Linked DNA regions of Homo sapiens: region 1 is linked to region 2. Evidence: promoter capture Hi-C in 16 types of primary human blood cells and fetal thymus (Javierre and others, 2016). All regions are on one chromosome and are shown on one strand. Each heading gives the region's core, a stretch centred on a gene start or on the middle of the fragment in contact. The rest is flanking DNA. Distances are from core to core; before and after follow the strand shown. Region 1 overlaps LOC107986764 (a long non-coding RNA gene). Region 2 holds the start of COL28A1 (collagen type XXVIII alpha 1 chain).

Region 1 (4,583 bases), core at 2,034-4,533, 230 kb before region 2:
GCTCATTCCTTTTCATTCTTTTTCTCTAACTTCGTCTTCACACTTTATTTCATTAAGTTGATCTTCAATCTCTGATATCCTTTTTCCACTTGATCGCCTCGGCTATTGATACTTGTTTATGCTTCGCAAAGTTCTCGTGCTGTTTTTCAGCTCCATCAGGTCATTTATGTTCTTCTCTAAACTGGTTATTCTAGTTAGCAATTCCTGTAACCTTTTTTCAATGTTCTTAGCTTCCTTGCATTGGGTTAGAACATGCTCATTTAGCTCAGAGGAGTTTATTTCCCACCTTCTGAAGCCTACTTCTGTCAATTCATCAAACTCATTCTCCGTCCAGTTTTGTTCCCTTGCTGGTGAGGAGCTGTGATCCTTTGGAGGAGAAGAGACGTTCTGGTTTTTTGGAATTGTCAGTCTTTTTATGCTGGTTTTTCCTCATCTTCATGGATTTATCTACCTTTGGTTTTTGATGCTGGTGACTTTCAGATGGGGTTTCTGTGTGGATGTCCTTTTTGTTGATGTTGATGCTATTCCTTTGTTAGTTAGTTTTCCTTCTAACAGGCCCCTCTGCTGCAGGTCTGCTGGAGTTTGCTGGAGGTCCACTCCCGACCCTGTTTGCCTGGGTATCACCAACAGAGGCTGTAGAATAGCAAAGATTGCTGCCTATTCCTTCCTCTGGAAGCCTCGTCCCAGAGGGGCACCTGCCAGATGCCAGCCAGAGCTCTCCTGTATGATGTGTCCGTCGACCCCTGCAGGGAGGTGTCTCCCAGCCAGAAGGCATGGGGGTTAGGGACCCACTTGAGGAGGCTGTCTGTCCCTTAGCAGTGCTCAAGCGCTGTGTTGGGAGGTCCACGGCTCTCTTCAGAGCTGACAGCCAGGAACACTTGAGTCTGCTGAAGCTGCGTCCACAGCCACCCCTTCCCCCAGGTGCTCTGTCCCAGTGAGATGGGAGTTTTATCTATAAGCCCCTGACTGGGGCTGCTGCCTTTCTTTCAGAGATGCCCTGCCAAGAGAGGAGGAATCTAGAGACTCAGTCTGGCTACAGCAGCTTTGCCAAGCTGCAGTGGGCTCTGCCCACTTTGAACTTCCTGGTGGCTTTGTTTACTGAGGGGAAAACCGCCTACTCCAGCCTCAGTAATGGTGGATGCCCCTCCCCACACCAAGCTCAAGCATCCCAGGTTGACTTCAGACTTCTGTGCTGGCAGCGATAATTTCAGGCCAGTGGATCTTAGCTTGCTGGGCTCTGTGGGGGTGGGATCCACTGAGCAAGACCACTTGGCTCCCTGGCTACAGCCCCCTTTCGATGAGAGTGTACACTTCTGTCTCACTGGCATTCCAGATGCCACTGGGGTATGAAAAAAAACTCCTTCGGCTAGCTTGGTGTCTGCCCAAATGGCCACACAGTTTTGTGCTTGAAACCCAGGGCCCTGGTGGCATAGGCACCCAAGGGAATCTCCTGGTCTGCGGGTTGTGAAGACCGTGGGAAAAGTGTAGTATCTGGGCCAGAGTGCACTGTTCCTCATGGCATAGTCCCTCACAGCTTCCCTTAGCTAGGGGAAGGAGTTCCTCGACCCCTTCTACTTCCCAGGTGAGGCAACACCCCACCCTGCTGCTTACCATCTGTGGGCTGCACCCACTGTCTAACCAGTCCCAATGAGATGAATCAGGTACCTCAGTTGTAAATGCACAAATTACCCACCTTCTGCATTGATCTCACTGGGAGCTGCAGACCAGAACTGTTCCTATTCGGCCATCTTGCCCACGTCCAGTCCCTTTACTTTAAGTTTATGAGCGTCCTTATGTGTTAGGTGAGTCTTTTGGAGGCAGCAGATGGTTGGTGAATTCTTATCCATTTTGCCATTCTGTATCTTTTAAGTGGAGCATTTAGGGCATTTACATTCAATGTTAGTATTGAGATGTGAGGTACCATTCTATTCACCATGGTGTTTGTTGCCTGTATAACTTGGTTTTTTAAAAATTGTATTCTTGTTTTATAGGTCCTGTGAAATTTGTGCTTTAAAGAGGTTCTGTTTTGATGTGTTTCCAGAATTTATTTCAAGATTTAGAGCTCCTTTTGGCAGTTCTTATAGTGCTGGATTGGTACTGGCCAATTCTCTCAGCATTTGTTTGACTGTATCTTTCCTTCATTTACAAAGCTTAGTTTCACTGAATACAAAATTCTTTGCTGATAATTGTTTTGTTTAAAGAGGCTGAAGATAAGGCCCCAATCCCTTTTTGTAGGGTTTCCGCTGAGAACTCTGCTGTTAATCTGATCGATTTTCCTTTATAAGTTACCTGGTGATTTTGCCTCATAGCTGTTAAGATTCTTTCCTTCGTCTCAACGTTAAGTAACCTGATGACATTGTGCCTAGGTGATTACTTTTTTGTGATGAATTTCCCAGGTGTTCTTTGAGCTTCTTATATTTGGATAACTAGGTCTCTAGCAAGGCCTGGGAAGTTTTTCTTGATTATTCCCCCAAATATGTTTTCCAAATTTTAGATTTCTCTTCTTCCTCAAGAATGCTGATTATTCTTAGGTTTGGTCATTTAACATAATCCCAGACTTCTTGGAGGCTTTGTTCATATTTTCTAATTTTTTTTTCTTTGTTGGATTGGGTTAATTTAGAGACCTTGTCTTCAAGCTCTGAAGTTCTTTATTCTGCTTGTTTGATTCTAGTGCTAAGACCTTCCAGGGCATTTTGCATTTCTATAAGTCCATCCATTGTTTCCTGAGGTTTTGATTGTTTTTTATTTATGCTATCTATTTAATTGAAAATTTCTCTCCTCATGTCTTGTATCATTTTTTTGACTTCCTTAAATTGGGCTTTGCCTTTCCCTGGTGCCTCCCTGATTAGTTCAATAACTAACCTCCTTTTTCAGGTAAATCAGGAATTTCTTCTTGGTTTGAATCCATTGCCAGTGAGCTAGTGTGACTTTTTGGGGGTGTTAAAGATGCTTGTTTTGTCACATTACCAGAATTCGTTTTCTGGTTCTTTCTCATTTGGGTAGCCTCTGTCAGAGGGAAGATCTGGGGCTCAAGGCTGTTGTTCAGATTTTTTTGTCCCATGGGGTGTTCCCATGATGTAGTACTCTCCTCCTTTTCTTAAGGATGTGGCTTCCTGAGAGCTGAGCTGTACTGATTGTTATGTCTCTTCTGGACCTAGCCACCCAGCAAGTTCACCAGGCTCTGGGCTGGTACTGAAGTTTGTCTGCACAGAATCCTGTGATGTGAATCGTCTGTGGGTCTCTCAGCCGTGGATACCAGCACCTTCTCTGGTGGAAGTGGCAAGGGAGTGAAATGGACTCTGTGAGGGTCCTTAACTTTGGTTGCTTAATGCACCATTTTTGTTCTGGTTGGCCTCCTGCTGGGAGGTAGTGCTTTCAAGACAGCATCAGCCATGATAGTATGGGGAGGAACAGGTGGTGGGTGCCGTCCTAGAACTCCCAAGAGTATATGCCCTTTGTCTTCAGCTACCAGGGTGTGTAGGGAAGGACCATTAGGTGGGCGCAGGGCTAGGCGTGGCTGCCTCTACTGTGTCATGCAGGTTGTCAGGAAAGTGGGGGAAAGCTGGCAGTCACAGGCCTCACCTAGCTCCCACTCAACCCAAAGGGCTAGTCTCACTCCCACCATGTGCCTGCCCCCCACCCCCAATAGCAACAAGTCTGTTTCCAAGCAATGGGCAAGCAGGGCTGAGAACTTGCCCCAGGATACCTGCCTCCCAGCTGCAAAAGCAAGTAGGGCTTTTGTGCTTCCCCTACCTGTGAATTCTGCACACCGGATTCATACCCTCCCCCAGGTTCTGGCCAGAAGACTTCTCAATGGCTTCAAATTGTTACAAAGTTCAGCTGGAGGTTTCCTTCTTCCTGTTCCCTTTTCCCAGTGCCTCTGGCAGCCTGCCTCAAGGACCCCTGTGAGGCAAGGCAGAAACGACTTGCTAGGGCACCAAGCGAGCCCACAGGGCTTTTCCCGCTGCTTCTTCTACGCCTGTATTTTGCTCAGCTCTCTAAATTGACTCAGCTCCGGGTAAGGTCAGAATCTTCTCCCGTGACCTAGACTTTCAGGTTTCCCAGTGAGGGTGTGTGTTCGGAGCAGATGATTCCCCTTTCCTACTTTCACAGTTTGGGCACTCACAGTATTTGGGGTGTCTCCCGGGTCCTGCAGGAGCAATTCGCTTCCTTCAGAGGGTCTGTGGGTTCTCTCAGCTTTCCCGATTTATTCCTGCAGTCATTCTGGAGCAGAAGTTCAACAACGCGAGCCTCCACATGCTGCTCTGTCCGTCCGAGTGGTAGCTGCAATTCCTACTTCCACATTCTCACTTGTCAGATCAAAACTTTTCTTGGGGATCCACAGTTAAGCAGAGCAACAGAACTGGAAACCACTTCTCTGATTTCCAAACTGTATTTCTCCTCTTTCTTGGTATTCAAGCTTAAAATAAAATTAATTTTTCAGTCATTCATTCACAGTTGAGCACTTTATAAGAAAGTTCTTAGTAAGCATCTATTGTATTATCCCTAGAAGGACAAATTATTTTATGCTTACACAAAACTTTTTTTTAGAGATGGCAGAATGGGGGGAACAGGTGATGGTA
Region 2 (4,452 bases), core at 858-3,357:
CTTAAACTGACAGATTTCCCTGGGAGGAGAAGACTCATGTGTTGCTGCCTCAGTATACCCAAGAGAATGGGAACGAGAAAGCTTATTTCGAATCAATACTTAGTATGGCTTAAAAATGCTTGCCTGCTGAAACTTTATTGACTTCAGGAGTTCTGGAAAAGGAATCACATTTTCCTTCTTTGGCACCTTGCCTTTAGGGGATAAGAATCTGGGAAATCATGAGCACGATTTTTCCAGACTCTGAGTAGAGAGTGGAAATATATGCAAAGGCAGTGAGGAGTGAGATGGAGACTGACTTTTTTCATACATGCCAGATGGATAAACCCCAAAGGGAAACAAAACTGTTGGGTTAGGAGAGGACCAATGGATGGCTTCATGCCACAGTCTGCTCCTCACATAGCATCATCCAGCTGGAAGTGTATTAAAAGAACTTTGGATAGGTATGACCAAACATCTTGTGTAGCAATTGGCCAAATGCCAACTGATCCTCAGACAAGGTATACTAAAATGTAAAGACAGCTGGGTATTAAAAACAAAACAAAACCAAGAAATGTGCTAAGGAAACAGAACACACAAAGGCCATCTCTCCTCAAGTTGTCCCTTTGCTAACCAAGGAAAAAAATAAATGATGTACAACTTTAAGTCTGAAGGTTAGTGTAAAGATAAGGCTATGTGAAAAACACAGTTGTTATTGCATTTTCAAAGGGGAAAGGGAATAACACCATGGCCATGGTATTACATATGACTTTTCTCTTTGGTTGAGTTCATACCATAAGGAACATCTCAGAAGTTCTGGAAATAAGAGGCTGAGAACTGAATTCCATTGAGAACTGAGCAAGATTTTATAAGCAACATAATCAAGCAACTCTTCAAAACCCTTCATGTAAGGTTTTAGAAATACTGGCTTTAAATAAAGATTTATCTTTTCCCAAAACTAAGCACCTGCTCTTACTGTTTTCTTGGCATATAATCATGAATTTGTACCTGATCCCTGTATATATGATATTCACAAACATAACTTTTCCATTGACAATAATCCCAGTATCTCATATTTTGTTCTTATTTGCTCTGACATTGTTAATCTAGCTCTCCCAAACCAAAGTCTTGTTATTTCTTTCTGTTTCCCTATTGTAGCCAGAGGACATTTTCATACCTCTCTAGATTTGTTTCTCTAGCTTGTTAGTTCTACTGCTTCCCTGAAATATCTTTCTCGTTTATTAATTTGGCATCTTGAGAGCCCACTCATTTCTAATCACTTTTTACCATGTTTTATTTTGCCTCTGTTTTTAATAATTCTCACCTTTCTCTCTTTCTGATGTCACGTACAAGCAAAATAGGTTTCAGAGGAAACAGTGCCATTAGTTAAGTGAAAGAAATGTGAACCTCTGTGTTTACTATAGGTTACATTTTATAAATGCAGAAACAATCATAATTATTAATCAAATACCGTAGTTTTACTTTTGGCCTAAAATTTATTTGGGGTAAATATCAGGATCAGTAAATAAATCCAAGATACTTTATTTTTTATAATTTTTCAAAAATAAAATGATCTTATATCAGAGTTCACCAACTTTAGTTACAATGTTTGCATCTCAGTTTCTACACAAATAGAAAATGATTGAATAAAGACTTTATTCAAATTGACAAATTAGCCAAGTTGTAAAGTATTCTATAACTAATTCTGAATTGTAAACCCTGTTCCAAATTAAGAAAAAGATGTCCTAAAATATATTAACATCGTTGTAAAACAATTTAGAAGACTGTAAATTAAAAATCCATTTCAAAATAATTTTAAGTTTTAAATTTCTACATTTTAACAATGTTAATATTTTTCTAATAATTGATTTGAAGTAATTGCAGAGAATACAAACTATTGACAAGCTTTCTCACCTAATAATTATGTAAGTAAGTCATTTAGTCTTCCACAGTTCCTTGATGGTCCTATCTGATTTCAAGTGACTAAAATAAATCTGTTATGTCTTACCTTATAAAGTTTGTCAAACAGGAATTAAAGACTAGTTGAGTAAATGCCAACAGCAAGGACTGTGGTTGGGGGTGAAGTTAGCTATTTGATATTGTTCTGTTCTGTGGGAAATAAAAGTGTCTTTGCTTTAGGATCTTTTGCAGTCTTTTGTTCATGTTTATTCGACTAAGTCAAAGCAAGAGTGGTCAGGCATTTGGCCAGGGTGCAAGATCTGGGTGGGATCAGTAAGCAATTTAAAGGAACAGTGTCCTTTCAGAATGAGACTGTGTTTTCCAGACTATTGTAAAAACAACTTGAGAGAACTTTCTACATTTTAGGCATTGGTTGACAGCCTGCCTTTTTTTCTCATGCTATGTCCTTCTCTTTTTATTGCTACATTTCTTTGCCTGGGGGATGTGCTCTAAGATACTGGTTCTGAACATCTCTGTGAAGGAGTATAAATGACACCAGACTCAGAATCAAAGCTGTTTTTTTAAGAGAGGTAACAGTTTGATTGTTATTAAAGCTGGATGATGAGTACATAGGTGTGCATTGTTCTAGTCTTTGTATTTCTGTGATTTTTGAAATTTTTTATAATAAAAGGTATATATAATATACAGGGAAAGAGTGGTCTGAGTATAGTCATAGTTCTGCCCCTAACTTTTATGGGGGCTTCAGTTCCCCACTTATGAAATGAGAGAGTAGATTTAATCATTTATTAAGATGTGTTCGAACTGTAACATGAGAGGTTTACAGCGGTTAATATTTTGGTCTCTCTCTAGGAAAGGATCACTGTGGTTTTTCCACTCCCTGTTTCCCTATTTTCTACCTTGTGGTTATGGTCCATATTAAGTCAATGTTTATCATGTAATATATACTGCCAAGAAGCCACCTGACCCCTAGACAGCTAACAGGCAGGCTTCTCCACGGACTTCCTCTGAAATAGAGAATAGCAAGATCATCCGAGAAAGCAATACAAATGTGCATGTTACGGTTATTTAAAATGAACTTTCTTAGCCATTTTAATGTGTATGAATTTCCTTATTACAGCAATAATAGCCTCCAATTCATGGACACTTACCAGGTGCTAGGCACTGTCCTGAGTGCTTCACACACATTACCTCATTTAATCCTTCACAAGCACAACCACCTATATACAGTAAGTCCTCACTTAATGTCCTCTGTAGGTTCTGGAAACTGTGACATAAAGTGAAACAATTGATAATGAAGACAATTTTCCCAAGAGCTAATTGATATAAATAAGAGTTAAGCTCTTATGGCATATTCCTAGTCACAAAAACATCACTAAACCTCTAAATACTCAAAACACCTCTAATAATAAACATTGAAATAAATCTAAGCTATATATACATTTATGAAAGATTGATAAAAACAAGATAACTGCTTACCTGCATATTCCAGTTCAGGGTCACGGTTGACCAGATCCTGTCCCAGCAGCTGAGGATACAAGGCAGGAACCAGCCCTGGACAGGATGCAGTACTGTCAAAGGGCACTCATACACCCACCCACTCTCTCAGACAGGCACCATGTAGACACACCAATGCATCTAATGGGCAAAGCTTTGGGATGTGGGAGGAAACTCCAGGACCTGGAGAAAACCCACACAGACATGGGGAAAACATGTCAACTCCACACAGTGAGCCTGGCCCAGGAATTGAATTTTTTTTCTCATCAATGTTATAACAAAATGACATTGAACAAAATATTATTCCAGGACCCCTTGTACTTAGTAGATGTTGTAAGAATTCGAATTTTTCCAAGATGGAGGCAGAGAGAGGTTCAGTAACTTGTCCGCTGTCATACTAAAACCAGAGAATGGCAAAATGAACTTTTAACTCAGGCTGGTAAGACCTGTGAGCCTCACTTATAACAACTACTGCATCATTAAGTATCTATGCGAACGTCTGTGTTTTCACTGTCTCCTCCTCACAAAACAGGTTTCGAGGAACTGAGGAAGTTTTGTGAGGCTTTGGTAACAGAAAGAAGAAACGGTGGGTATAATGCAGAAATAACAACGGAATTTCCTAGGGAACAACCATGTATTTACCTGATAGCCTATGGGTGTTAGTCACACTTTTTACTTTTGTAAGATGAGAATCAAGAGACAAGGAAGTAGCATCTTTTCAGGTCAACTCTCTTTTTGCTGAGGCAGGTTAAAAACATGCAGAATAATAATGCCACTAAGAAGCAAACAGGTGATTCCTAGATGGGGGAAATGGACTAAAGCCCTCCTGCCTTGGAGCTGTTTTGATTAAAGTTGGTGGGAGGTTGGAGTCCAACTTAGTCATCCATTCCCTTTCATTCTCCAACATTAAATAGGGTAACTCAAACCAAAGATTTGCCACCTCTCATTCTCAAGCGTGAAAATCAGCACTAAATTAATTGGGAAGATTATGCAAAATAAAATCTTCAGTTTCATCAATCTATAAAAGACAATTAGTTTTGCACCCAGAGAAACAATGCACCA

What was found. Contacts are between HindIII fragments. The CHiCAGO score rates a contact against its expected background, and 5 or more counts as called.
Region 1: a fragment that was not itself captured here is called in contact with the fragment with the promoter of COL28A1 in region 2 in 1 of 17 cell types (total B cells); the score reaches 5.0 in total B cells.

The regions. Positions count from the first base shown.
Region 1 is chr7:7,300,007-7,304,589 of GRCh38, forward strand. The region is part of intron 1 of LOC107986764 (a long non-coding RNA gene); the gene reads left to right. Among named protein-coding and RNA genes, the nearest start is that of LINC03016, 47 kb to the left of the region's middle. The HindIII fragment of the contact is 2,270 bases long and covers 2,149-4,418 here.
Region 2 is chr7:7,533,766-7,538,217 of GRCh38, forward strand. COL28A1 (collagen type XXVIII alpha 1 chain) reads right to left here and starts at 2,108. Exons shown (of 35, transcript NM_001037763.3): 1 at 1,985-2,108. The HindIII fragment of the contact is 1,663 bases long and covers 1,880-3,542 here.